Regions from separate parts of the Homo sapiens genome. Here regions 2 and 3 are each linked to region 1. Evidence: promoter capture Hi-C in human tissues and cell types (Jung and others, 2019). All regions are on one chromosome and are shown on one strand. Each heading gives the region's core, a stretch centred on a gene start or on the middle of the fragment in contact. The rest is flanking DNA. Distances are from core to core; before and after follow the strand shown. Region 1 holds the start of SLCO4C1 (solute carrier organic anion transporter family member 4C1). Region 2 has its middle 30 kb from the start of LINC00492. Region 3 overlaps SLCO6A1 (solute carrier organic anion transporter family member 6A1).

Region 1 (4,725 bases), core at 706-3,205:
AGCCACCATGCCCAGCCTATTGGGTCACTATTATCTCAGATTAAGCTTCTTAAATTGGGGACCTCTGGGTAGATGCTGCTCCAGACTAAACCTGACAAATTTTCTAGGAGTGACAATTACATTTGATAACAATTTTAGGCAATATTTTATATTAAATATAAAATGTTATATTTTGGAATAATATAGAAATTTCAGAGGAATTTTAAGATAATACACAAGATAAGACATTTTTTACTTGTGTCCAACTTTTTTATCTTCGCATTCCTTTGACACTGAGATGCTTCACAATTACCAATTTTGTAAAACTATGATCAAGACATTAATGGAGGGGAACTTTGGTAGGGACAAGAAAAGTGGACAGGGAAATAATTCTTCAACACAAATCTACCTTCAGTAGAAGAGCTGCAGCGGACTTGCAATCAATAAATGGTTACTTAGCATCTAATGCGCAAAGCAAGGGGCCCTGGGTTCCTTGAAGAGGAAGAATAAGAACAAAAAGTATACTTAGGCTTTGACTTAGTTTTCTATTAACTTAAAAAATGAGCTGTTTCCAACCCTCTAAAATCTATATTTCTAAGGTTGTATTTCTTCCAATTAATCCTTGACTGATTATACAGAAAATATTCTCGGACTATGACTCAAGTGACCAAAAAATATCTACATTCCAATTCAGCTAAGCTTCGGCATGTCCTTCTTGACTCCTCTCCACCTCTTCTCCACCCTTCCTCAAAGTCAACTCAGGTTAACTTCCTATTTTCCTTCAACCTCTGTATTGAACACACCAGAAGCAGCTTTAACCTTCCCTGTGCCTTCTTTCAAGGGAGCTGTTCTCCCTCCAGGATATCACTCCTCCAAACTGAGCTTAGATTGCAAGCCCCTGAGGGTATAAATCTGAACTGAATCTGTAACTCCCAAGAGAACCTAAAAGAGATCCTAGAACAAAACAGATGCTGGATAACTAATGTAACACAATGAAGATTAAGGCTCAACAACGTCGGGAGCCTTTGCTAATTTACTCACTGGGCTCCTCTGGTGACCACATACTCTCAAACTAAATACACTCACAAAACATGAATGTCTGTATCTAATTTATACGATAGATTTTTCATAGCTTTCTTCCTTGTAAGGCATCCCACTCCCACCTGCAAACGTATTACTCCTTCCCCTGAGGCAATGAAACAAATGTAAAAGTAAAATACCTTTAAAGAGTGCCTAGGTAAATTTTTGTCTTTATAATGTAAAATAAACTCCCCAGGGTATACCTTTCCCAAAGGAAGGTTCTTGTAATCTTCCCTGTAAGTCTTGAATCCGCTAAACTGAGGTAAAACACAAAAGAGAAAAAGGCTTGTATTGCAAGTTTGAACTGTAGTGATAAAGGAGAAGCTGAACTTTGGAAGGCTGGCTGGGGGCCGGTAGGTTGACCTTGGTGAGAGCGCAAGCAAGTTCCAAACCCGGGGCCACCTTGCAGGGCGCGTCCACCGTCCCACGGACCCCGCGCACCTGCCCTCTCCCCCGGCTGGCTCGCCGTGCCCACCTCGCTCTCCACTGGCCCGAGCCTCAAGCGGGCGCTGGACTTTACCTTGCGTGACGGCCAAGAGGCAGTAGTGAAGCAGAAAGCCTCCAGGTGTGTTGCAGCGCTGGAGACATTGAGGATGGAAGTTCCTCCAGCCGTAAGACCCCTCCTCAAACTCGGACAGCGACAGTGACCGGAGCTTCTCTTCGGAGACATTGGGAGGGGCTGAAGGCAGAGATGGCTCTGGTGACTTCTGGGGCTCCTGGGGCTTCTGAAGCTCCTGTGGCTGAGAATTCTCTCTTTGGGGGTCAGAGGACAAGGCAGAGACTTCGATTTGGGAGGGCGACGCAGACAAGCGGCGCAGGATGTCTGGGCTGGAGGGGACAAAAGCCAAGTTCTCAATACCTTTGGCGCTCTTCATGTCTGGATGGGTTCTCCCGACTCCGGTGCTTCAGAGCAGCAGAGCCAGGTCCCTCTCTGGCTCCTCCCACAGGCAGGTGACAGCGCCCCCGTGCGGGAAGCTTCCCGCCTCCTGGCCCTCCAGCCTCCAGCGCACTCTCCGCCACCGCCTGAACCTTCCTACTCCAGCTCGCAGCTGTCTGGAGCGCAGAGCGCTGAGCGGGGGCGTTAGCGCCCCAGCCTGTGGCTTTGGCGCTCAGCTGTGCCTCACCCGTCGCCTCAAGGACCAACCGGAAGGCGCGGCGTGGGCGTGCCACCCGGCGGCGGCCGAGTAGAGGGGGCGAGAGTTCTCACCCCACAGCCTTCGACCGGAGTCCGCCTCCGCCCAAGCCCCTGCGGTTCTGACCTGAGCCTTCAGCCCGCAGCGCGCCTCCCTTGAGCCCAAGCACTGGGAACACACAGAGACTGTGGGAGTCTCTGGCCATAAGCTCCCCTTGGGTGCTGACATGAAACCTGTAAACAGTTGCATCAGGAGATTGTTCAGGAAACTATCTTGCGTTTTCTTCCTTTGCTGCTTACCAAAGCAGTCTAGGCTTGGACTCCAAGAATCAAGACGTCAGAGGTATACTTTGGTTCATGAGCATCTTGATAAGACTCTTGCCTGTCATCCTGTTACTGGTAGAAGGTGTCCAGGTTCTTGGCATCTTGAAGAAAGAATTGAAGAAAACGCACAAACAAAGCAAGGAAGGAATGAAGGGGTTTATTGAAAATGAAAGTACACTCCACAGTGTGGGAACGGGCGAGCATAGGGGCTCAAAGGCCCGGTTACAGAATTTTGGGGAGTTTAAATACCCCCTAGAGGATTCCATTGGTTACTTTGGGTATGCCCTATGTAAAGGGAGAAGATGAAGTAAAGTTACAAAGTCATTTATGGCCTACGCCCTATGGAGAGGATATTTCCTGTTACAGCTGAAGTGTGAATAGGCCTTATGTTTCCTGCCTCCAGACCCTATTTTCCTGCCTCAGTCCTCCTTAGAAAAAGAAATCCACCCCACCCCACCCCCATCACCACCAGGATGAACATCACAGCATAACCACTGCTTTGCTTTTCCTTCTCCGAAACTGAAGGACCAGAAATTGTCTCTCTGCTGTATATTGCATATGTAAGATATACAGTGATGACAATCATGTAAATAATTTCTACCGGGCCAGGCGCGGTGGCTCACGCCTGTAATCCTAGCACTTTGGGAGGCTGAGGCGGGTGGATTACCTGAGGTCAGGAGTTCAAGATTAGCCTGGCCAACATGGTGAAACACTGTCTTTACTAAAAATACAAAAATTAGCCAGGTGTGGTGGTGCAGGCCTGTAATCCCAGCTACTTGGGAGGCTGAGGCAGGAGAATCATTTGAACTCGGAAGGTGGAGGGTACAGTGAACCGAGATTGTGCCACTTCAATCCAGTCTGGGTGAAAGAGTGAAACTCTGTCTCTTAATAATAATAATAATAATAATAATACATGTCTAACTGTGGAATAAATAAGAAAAACACTTCGAAGAGCTTAACACCATTGTGTCATGGTAGGTACAATTTAGTCATTCATTCTTTCACTTAACACAGACACAAAAAATTCTTGTGTCCTAGGTGCCAAACATTGTTCTAAGTTCTGGGGGTACACAAGTGAACAAAGACTGGCAAATACCCCTACCCTTATGGTGCTTATGTTTTAATAGGAAACAGACAGTAATAATACATAGTACATGGCACATAATATGATAAATACTATTTTGTGAAACTTTTGTTTCAATTATATATGCTGTGTTTACTGGGTTGAGAGACAGATATAAAATATGTATCTTACTTTGGACAGAGGTACATTCTGTTACCTGTTTCCTCACAATCGAGAAAACTCTAGACTGGCCAGCCGGGCGCAGAGGTGCAGGCCTGTAATCCCAGTACTTTGGGAGGCCAAGGTGGGTGCCTTGAGTCCAGGAGTTTGAGACCAGCCTGGGCAACACGACAAAACCCTGTCTCTACCAAAAATGCAAAACTTAGCCTGGCATGGTGGTGCACGCCTGTAGTTCCAGATACTTGGGAGGCTGAGGTGGGAGGGTCGCTTACAACCTGGGAGGGTGAGGTTGCAATGAGTACTCCAGCTGTGCCATAGAGCCAGACCTTGTCTCAAAAAAATAAGAATTAAAAATAAAAATAAATTCTAGATTGGCCTAAAACATGGGGAAAGAGTAGAAGTAGGAGCTAACATTTAAAATGTCTGCTATATGCCCCATTATTAAAATCTTTACAAAAGCAGCTGCACTGTTATATATAGTTTACATATTGAGGAAACCATATCCCATAAAGAATTAGTAACTGTCCCAAAGTCACATAGCTAATAAGTGAACTGCCACTTAAGGATCTGAACTCGGCTCTCTTAGCCAGAAGTCTTCCCTAAACTTTGCATTTTCTGTCTTTTAATAACTACAGTGTATCTCCATCAGGTTAAATTATTGCATAGCAATTTTAAGAGATCAAAATTCAAAATTCTGTGATATTCGTGAGGCTTAGAAGATTAATGCTGCTCTGAAAACCTAGATTTTGGAGGTATTCAAATTAAGCATGGTATGTAATCTTCCTGGGCTTGCTTTCTACAAAAATGGACTCAAAGTAGGTAACTATTTTGATCACCATTTTATCTATGGAATACGAAGTAATTTACACAACCAGAAAATTTTGTTTTGATGGGATGTGATTACATACAATCATGGCTTAAGACTATTTTGCAGCTGTGACTTAATAAATCCATGCTATACTATCAA
Region 2 (4,725 bases), core at 559-3,058, 250 kb after region 1:
GAAAAAGTAAGAAAATTAATGACAAGCTTAGTGCTTTCAAAAAGCAGTATGTAACATAATCTTATACCTGATATTAATTACTTGAAATTTTGGGGTAAGTAGAAGGAGTTAAAGAAATAAATACAATCTAGCAAATCTTTATCTGAATCAAGTCTCCAGAATATTAAAACCAGAAGATACAGAAATACATCTCTTAAGAATTAACTCCAGTAAATCAACCTAGGTGCCCATCAACAGTGGATTAGATAAAAAACATGTGATACATACATAAAATGGAATACTATGCAGCCATACAAAATGCTAAATCATGTCCTTTGCGGCAACATGGATGTAGCTCTCCAGCTTAGCAGGCCATCATCCTAAGCTAATTCACATAGGAACAGAAAACCAATACCACGTGTTCTCACTTATAATCACTGTGATTATAGACTACTAATATCTAGTTTTAAGAAAACTGGCCAGGTGTGGTGGCTCACACCTGTAATCCCAGCACTTTGGGAATCTGAGGCTGGTGGATCACCTGAGGCCAGGAGTTCGAGACCATCCTGGCCAACGTGGTGAAATCCCGACTATACTAAAAATAGAAAAATTAGCTGGGCGTGGTGGCAAGCACCTGTAATCCCAGCTACTAGGGAGACTGAGGTGGGAGGATTGCTTGAACCTGGGAGGCAGAGGTTGCAGTGAGCTGAGATCATGCCAGCCTGGGTGACAGTGAGACTCTGCCAAAAAGAAAGGAAAGAAAGGAGAGAGAGAGAGAGAGAGAGACTAATATTTGTGAATAGCTAAACTGGCCTAGGTCAATCACCTTAGATTACTTACATCAGTTAAATTTGCTCAGGTCACTTAGTGAATGAGCAGAGACTGAAATTATTTCATCTTTTTATTGAGTACACAGCTAGTCTATTTGTATGGCCATGTGACTGAATTTGGCTGATGGAAGATAAATGCATGTGATATATGCAACATTCAGGCTTGGCTCACTAAAACCTCCCACCTAATTCCATGTTTTCTTTGCTTTGTGTCTTCCAGCTACCAGAAGACTCTGATGTAGGGGATGACAGAGCCAACAGATGCCTCCCTCAACCTAGTGATTTACATCCATCACATAATCAAGAAATAAGCTGTATTAGTCCATTTTCACACTGCTATAAGAACTACCTGGGACTGGGTAATTTATAAAGAGAAGAGGTTTAATTGACTCACAGTTCTGCATGGCTGGGGAGGCCTCAGGAAACTTACAATCATGGCAGAAGGAGAAGCAGGCACATCTTACATGGTGGCAGGCAAGAGAAAGCAAGCAAGAGCAGAGAAAACCGCTTTATAAAACCATCAGATCTCATGATAACTCACTCACCATCACAAGAACAGCATGGGAAAAGCCACCACCATGATCCAGCCACTTCCCACCTGGTCCCTCCCTTGACACGTGGAGATTATGGGGATCATAATTTGAGATGAGATTTGGGTAGGGACACAGAGTTAAATCATATCACAAGCTTTTGTTGTATTAAGTAACTGAAATTTTAGGATTTTCTATTTATATCACTTACCCTACCTTGATTAATATAGTCAATTTTGCATCACTTAAGAATCATAAGCTTTTACCTACTCTGATTTACAAACAAATCTTGGTAAATCAATATGTATTAATGTGCTATTTTACATACAAGATTGATCAAATTTACACATTTAATAAATGCCAGGTTCAAAATTTGTACCCAAGTTTTTCTGATTCCAAATCCCCACATTCTTTTTACTGCCCCACATCACACAACTCCCATACTTATTTCAATGGAAGAAGAATTGAAAAGTGAGTTAAGTGTTGATTTTTGCCAAACTAAGATAACTAGAAAGATTTTCTAGTTTTCAGCATTAAGCTCTGAATAATAAGCCACCTAAAAATAAAATGCAATCTTTAACAGAGCTGCACATCTGTGAATTAAAAGCACCAATTTTTCTATTCTCTTCACATTAACACAATTCAGTATTTATAGTCTCATATTTGGTTTACTTCTATCATATAAAACCAGATAATAGCCAGTAATGAAACGTCATTTTCATAGCTCTGAAGCAAACAGCAAATATCTCTATTTTCAATATTTTATGCTTATGATATTTAGCAGAGGCTATTTCATTCATTAAAGGGTACTCATGTATTAACATAAAACAAAGTAAGGAGTACCACTCTCTCTTTCCATGTAGATGCAATATAGCAAATCCATTAAAATGAGTGATTTTTCTCCTTTAGCTTCTTATGAACATTTTATAGTCATTAGCACATACTCTGAGTGCATTGAATATTCTCTTCAATACATCTCTTTTCCTTGAGGTATACTATATTATTAACAATGGTAAAACATCTTTTTTTCTGTTCTCTTCTTTTTTAAAAAAATTTTTTAAATTATACTTTAAGTTCTTGGATACATGTGCAGAACGCGCAGGTTTGTTACATAGGTATACACGTGCCGTGGTGGTTTGCTGCACCCATTAACCTGTCATCTACATTAAGTATTTCTCCTAGTGCTATCCTTCCCCTAGGCCCCACGCCCTAACAGGCCCTGGTGTTTGATGTTCCCCTCCCTGTGTCCATGTGTTCTCATTGTTCAACTCCCACTTATGAGTGAGAACATGCAGTGTTTGGTTTTCTGTTCTTGTGTTAGTTTGCTGAGAATGATGGTTTCCAGTTTCATCCATGCCCCTGCAAAGGACATGAACTCATCCTCTTTTATGGCTGCATAGTATTCCATGGTGTATATGTTCCATATTTCTTTTATCCAGTCTATCATTGATGCACATTTGAGATGGTTCCAAGTCTTTGGTATTGTGAACAGTACTGCAGTAAACATATGTGTCCATGTGTCTTTATAGTAGAATGATTTATAATCCCTTAGGTATGTACCCAGTAATGGGATTGCTGGGTTAAATGGTATTTCCAGTTCTAGATCCCTGAGGAATTGCCACACTGTCTTCCACAATGGCTGAACTAATGTACACTCCCACCGACAGTGTAAAAGCATTGCTATTTCTCCACATTCTCTCCAGCATCTGTTGTTTTCTGACTTTTTAATGATCACCATTTTAACTGGCATGAGATGGTATCTTATCGTAGTTTAGATTTGCATTTCTGTAATGACCAGTGATGATGAGCTTTTTTCATATATATGTTGGCCGCATGAATGTCTTCTTTTGAGAACTGTCTGTTTATATCTTTCGCCCACTTTTTTATGGGGTTGTTTTTTTTCTTGTAAATGTGTTTAAGTTCTTTGTAGATTCTGGATATTAGCCCTTTGTCAGATGGATAGATTGCACAAATTTTCTCCCATTCTGTAGGTTGCCTGTTCACTCTGATGATAGTTTCTTCTGCTGTGGAGAAGCTCTTTAGTTTACTTAGATCTAATTTGTCAATTTTGGCTTTTGTTGCCATTGCTTTTGGTGTTTTAGTCATGAAGGCTTTGCTCATGCCTATGTCCTGAATGGTATTGCTTAGGTTTTCTTCTGGGGTTTTTATGGTTTTAGGTCTTATTTTTAAGTCTTTAATCCATCTTGAGTTAATTTTTGTATATGGTGTAAAAAAGGGGTCCGGTTTCTGTTTTCTGCATATGGCCAGTCAGTTTTCTGTTATTTGCCTTTTTATATATTGTCCAAATTTAAATTAACATGATCAAAAAATGCCCACACTTTGTCCAGAGAGATGGCTATCTCACACAATCCAGAGAGAACATGAAATGATTACAATTCTCAGGAGTATGTTTTATCCATTTGGATTTACTGCTTTAAAATATGCATATTTTGGTTGCATCAACTCTGTTTCTAAAATTTATTCTAAGAAAATGATAATCTATATACCCAGTGATTTAGCCTCAATTTTATTCATTGCAGCAATTATGTTTTTGTTACATATAACCCTCTTGGTCATTTAAAAGGAACCTAAAAGACAACATAATAACTAAACATATGTAAACTTTATTTGTAGGACGTGAACTGTATGTTTTATTTTCTTCATTTATATTCCTTCATTGGGGATATAACTTGAATTTTGCCATAGTTTAGACAATCTAGAATTACTTAAATAAAACAAGGACTACTATACTTTCCTCTTTGTCTTAATACCCCAATTAAAAACAGAAGAAAACATTTTTCAAATTTTTGATATTACATAGTGCACATTCTAAAATTTATTCTAGTTTGAAAAAATGTGCCATTGACCATAGAAGGTATTCAATGATTAAACATATTTCTCTGAAACAGATATCAAGTATGCTAATCTAGTTTAACCTCTTAACCTGCAGAACACCTCTAAATCAGTACTTAATATTGTTCGTAAGGAATACTTTTAGGGTGTTCTTAGAAACTTTACTGTCCTCTCAGGTAATGATTGGCCAAAGGGACTTTGAGCTTATGAGGTTAACTTTTGTGGTTGATTGGTTGGGTATTTCTAATTTCATTATAAATATGTAGAAATTTTTCTACATAGCAGTGATGGTCATGGCTGCTGAAAATCCTTTATAAAAGATTAATTTTACTCTAACTTCTAGACTGATGATTACTTTTATTATAAATGCTATATTTAAATGTCAGCTCTTTAAATATGGTGATTAATTTGCTTCCCTAACTATATTGCTCATAATTAAATTAACAGGCAAAAAAACCAAACAGAACCTCAATGCCTTGTGCTGAAGTAATTTTAATCTTATTTTCTTGAGACATCAATTAAATAATATTTCC
Region 3 (4,725 bases), core at 1,468-3,967, 140 kb after region 1:
ATAGGAATAGCACTGAATCTGTAAACTGCTTTGGGCAGTGTGGCCATTTTAAAGATATTGATTCTTCCTATTCATAAGCATGGAGTGTTTTCCCATTTGTTTGTGTCATCTCTTATTTCTTTGAGCAGTGTTTTGTAATTTATTGTAAAGATCTGTAAATTCCCGGGTTAGCTGCATTCCTAGGTATTTAAATCTTTTTGTGGAAACTGTGAATAGAATTGCATTTCTAATTTGGCTCTCAGCTGGCTGTTGTTGGTGTATAGAAATATTATTGATTTTTGTATGTTGATTTTGTATCCAGAAACTTTGCTGATGGCTGTTTCTCAGCTTAAGGAGCTTTTGGGCCAAGACTATGGGGTTTTCTAGATATAGAATCATGTTGTTTGCAAACAGGGATAGTTTGGCTTCCTCTCTTTTTATGTAGATGCCCTTCATTTCTTTCTCTTGTCTGATTGTTCTGGGCTGGACTTCTAATATTATGTTGAATAGGAATGGTGAGAGGGGGCATCCTTGTTCTGGTTTTCAAGGGGAATGCTTCCAGCTTTTCCCCATTCAGTATAATGTTGGCTGTGGGTTTGTCATAGATGGCTCTTATTATTTTTAGGTATGTTCCTTCAGTACCTAGTTTGTTGAGAGTTTTTAACATGAAGGGATGTTGAATTTTATTGAAAGTCATTTCTTCATCTATTCAGATGATCATGTGGTTTTCACTTTAGTTCTATTTATGTGATAAATCATGTTTATTGACGTGTGTATGTTTAACCAATCTTGCATTACAGGGATAAAACCTACTTGATCATGGTGGATTAGCTTTTGATGTACTGCTGGATTTATTTGCTAGTATGTATTGAAGATTTTTGCATGTATGTCCATCAAGGATATTGGCCTGAATTTTTGTTTTTTTGTTGGTCTCTTCCAGGTTTTGGTATCAGGATGATTCTGGCCTCATAGAATGAGATGGGCAGGAGTCTCCCCTCCTCAATTTGTTGGAATAGTTTTAGTAGTAATGACACCAGCTCTTCTTTGTACATTTGGTAGAGTTTGACTGTGAATCCATCTAATCCTGGGCTTTTTTTGGTTTGTAGGCTATTTATTGCTATTTCAGTTTTGGAGCTCATTATTAGTCTGTTCAGGAATTTAATTTCTTCCTAGATCAGTCTTGAGAGGCTTTATGTGTCCAGGAATTTATTCATTTTTTCTAGATTTTCTAGTTCATGTTTGTAAAGGTGCTCATAGTAGTCTCTGATTGTTATTTGTGTTTCTGTGGGGTCAGTGGTAATATCCTCCTTATCATTTCTAATTGTGTTTATTTGGATCTTCTCTCTTATTAATTTTTCAAAAAACCAACTCTTGGATTCATTGTTCCTTTGAATGTTTTTTTGTGTCTCCATCCCCTTCAGTTCAGCTCTGATTTTGGTTATTTCTTTTCCTCCTCTAGCTTTAGAATTGGTTTGCTGTTGCTTCTCTAGTTCTTTTTGTTGTGATGTTAGTTTTTAAATTGGGGTTTTTCTAACTTTTTGATGTGAGCATGTGGTGCTATACATTTCCCTCTTCATACTGCCTTAGCTATATCCCAGAGATTCTGGTGTTTTGTATCTCTGTTCTCATTCTGTCTTAATTTCATTACTTACCCAAAAGTCATTCAGGGTGGGTCATTTAATTTCCACTTAATTGTATGGTTCTGAGCAATTTAATTAGTCTTGATTTCTATTTTTATTGTGCTGGGGTCCAAGAGAGTGGTTGGTATGATTTCAGTTCTTTTACATTTTCTGAGGATTGTTATATATCTGATTTTGTGGTTGATTTTAGAGTATGTGCCATGTGGCAATGAGAAGAATGTATATTCTGTTGTTTTTTTGGTGAAGAGGTCTGTTGATGCCTCTCAGGTCTATTTGGTCTAGCATTGAGTTCAGGTCCTGAACATCTTTGTTAATTTTCTGCCTTGACAACCTTTCTAACACTTTCGGTGAGGTGTTGAAGTCTTCCACTATTAATTGGTGGGGGTCTAAGGCTCTTTGAAGGTCTCTAAGAATTTAATTTATAAATCTGGTTGTTTCTGTGTTGAATGCAGATATATTTAGGATAGTTAGGTCTTCTTGTTGAATTGAACCTTTCACCATTATGTAAAGCCCCTCTTTGTTTTTTACAATATTTGTTTATTTAAAGTCTGAAATTAGAATTGCAACCCCTTCAGTTTTTCATTCATTTTCCCCTTCAGTTTCCATTCGCTTGGTAGATTTTTCTTCATCTATTTTTGAGTCTATTGGTGTCATTGTATGTGAGACACATTTCTTGAAGACAGCATATCATTCGGTCTTGCTTTTCTATTCAGCTTGCCACTCTGTCTTTTCATTGGGGCATTTAACCCATTTACATTCAAGGTTACTATTGCTATATGTGGATTTGATCCTGTCATCATGTTGTTAGCTGTTTATTATGCTGACTTGTTTGTGTGATTGCTTTATAGTGTCAATGGTTTGCATACTTAAGTGCATTTTTGTAGTGGCTGGTAATGGTCTTTCCTTTCCATATTTAGTGCTTCTTTCAGGAGCTCTTGTAAGGCAGGTCTGGTGGTAAAAAATTCCCTCATAATTTTCTTGTTTGAAAATGATTTTATTTCTACTTCACTTATGAAGCTTAGTTTGGCTGGCTATGAATTTGATTGGAATTTCTTTTCTTTTAGAATGTTGAATATAGGCTCCCAGTCTCTTCTGGCTTGTAGGGTTTCTGCTGAGAAGTCTGCTGTTTCTGCTAAGAGGTCTAGCTTGTAGGGTTCCTGCTGATAGGTCTTCTAATAAGCTTTCCTTTGTAGATGGCCTGTCCTTTCTCTCTAGCTGCCTTTGACATTGTTTTTTCATTTTGAAGTTGGAGAATCCTATGATTATGTCTTAGGGATGATGTTTTTGTGAAGCACTTTGTGAGAGTTTCCTGCATTTTCTAAATTTGAATGTTGTCCTCTCTACATAGGTTGTGAAAGTTTTCATAGATGATATCCTGAAATATGTTTTCTAAGTTGCTTCCATCCTCCCTATCTCTTTCAGGGATGATAGTGAATTGTAGATTTGGTCTCTTTACATAATTGCATATTTTTGTTCATTTTGTTTGTTCCTTTTTATTCTTTTCTCTTTCATGTTTTCTTTCTGTCTTGTTTCAGAAACCCAATCTTCAAGCTCTGAGATTATTTCTTCAGCTTGATCTATCCTGCTGTTAATACTTGTGATTGCATTATGAAATTCTCATAGTGTGTTTTTATCTCTATCAAGTCAGTTATGTTCTTTTCTATACTGGCTACTTTATCTTCCAGATCCCGTATACTTTGTGATTCCTAGCTTCCTTAGAATGAGTTTCAACGTTCCCCTGAATCTTGATTTTTGTTCCTATCCATATTCTGAATTCTATTTCAGTCACTTCAGCCATCTAAGACTGGTTAAGGACCCTTGCTGGAGAACTAGTGAGGTTGTTTGAAGGAAAGAAGACCTTATGGCCTTTTGAATTGTCAGAGTTCTCGTGCTGCTTTTTTATCTTTGTGGGCTGATGCTCCTTTAATCCTTGAAGTTCCTGTCCTTTGGATTTTTTTTTCTTTTATCCTATTTGATGACCTTGAGGGTTTGCTTGTTGTATAAGGTGGGTTCATTCAACTGGCTTTGTTTCTGGAAGATTTTAGAAGGCAAAGGCTCAGCTCAGGACTCCTGGACTGTGTGGCCTAACTCCTGGGGACCAGTATTGGGCACTGGCTTTGTTCTCTGGCTCCTCAAGGTAGAAACATGCTGTGCTGGAGGGGTCAAGGTGCTCCTGGACTGCTGGTCACAACACTCCAATGGACGGTGGCAGCCAAAGCACTTTGTAGGGCAGTGGCAATGGGATCCATCCTGTTTGCACATACCAGCAACAGCAGCAGCGGCAGCATGGCAGAGTGCATGCTTTTTGGCTGTGGCAGGGTGCTGGCAGGTACTGGGGTGCTAGCCTCCATGGGGGAGCTAGTGAGGTTTTTTGAAGGAAAAAAGACATTCCAGCTTTTTGAGTTGTCGTAGTTCTTGTGTTCTTTAAAGGATACAATATTTAAAATTATTATAGTTGCACAAGCTTCTCTTTTGGTTAGCATTTGTATCTTTCGTCTATCCTTTCACTTTCAACCTTTTCATGTCCCCATATTTAAGGAGTGCCTCTTGTTAGTAACATATATTGAAATTTTTTTCCCAATCTGACATTCTTTAGACTATTTATATTTAACATAACTACTAATATATTTATTGGGTGAAAACTTTCTGTATATCTTGCAAGCAGAAGCACTGACTGCTCTTTGTTCTCCACTATCTTTTCAAGGATATTTATACGATGAGTAGCCTTGAATAATAAGGATAGTATTTCCACGTAGAGCACAGGACAACTTTGCTTAGAATTTTGGAAGACAGAGAGAGTGTCCCCTCTGGACACTCTTTATCAAGTATAATGCCTCCCTCTGGAGCCAAAGACAAGCATAATTACTGCCCACTATAAAAGACCTGGGTTCCCTAACCTCAAGATTTCTTTCATGTAATGCAACTCATTGTGTGTACAGATATCACCTGGCCTCTTTTCACATCACCCTTTGGAAACTGGAGCTCAGAAACCTAGCAGGAACTCTCATTACTGCTATTGCTGTGAGTCATAAACTTTATTTCATCTCTGACCAAGAAGTTTGGTGTCTTCTTCCAGCACACATGAAACTAAGTTAGGTTAACTTGT

The links. The method cuts DNA at HindIII sites, captures the fragments that hold promoters and counts their contacts. A contact is called where the count stands out against the background at its distance.
Region 2: a fragment that was not itself captured here is called in contact with the fragment with the promoter of SLCO4C1 in region 1 in 1 of the 25 tissues and cell types used here (thymus).
Region 3: a fragment that was not itself captured here is called in contact with the fragment with the promoter of SLCO4C1 in region 1 in 2 of the 25 tissues and cell types used here (neural progenitor cells and thymus).

What each region holds. Positions count from the first base shown.
Region 1 is chr5:102,294,329-102,299,053 of GRCh38, forward strand. It overlaps SLCO4C1 (solute carrier organic anion transporter family member 4C1), which reads right to left and starts at 1,956. Exons shown (of 13, transcript NM_180991.5): 1 at 1,580-1,956. The coding sequence starts at 1,934. RefSeq lists an enhancer at 1,722-1,921. The HindIII fragment of the contact is 20,431 bases long and covers 1,357-4,725 here.
Region 2 is chr5:102,549,178-102,553,902 of GRCh38, forward strand. No RefSeq gene overlaps it. Among named protein-coding and RNA genes, the nearest start is that of LINC00492, 30 kb to the right of the region's middle. The HindIII fragment of the contact is 5,071 bases long and covers 1-4,344 here.
Region 3 is chr5:102,429,860-102,434,584 of GRCh38, forward strand. All of the region lies in intron 7 of SLCO6A1 (solute carrier organic anion transporter family member 6A1), which reads right to left. Among named protein-coding and RNA genes, the nearest start is that of SLCO6A1, 67 kb to the right of the region's middle. The HindIII fragment of the contact is 4,050 bases long and covers 693-4,725 here.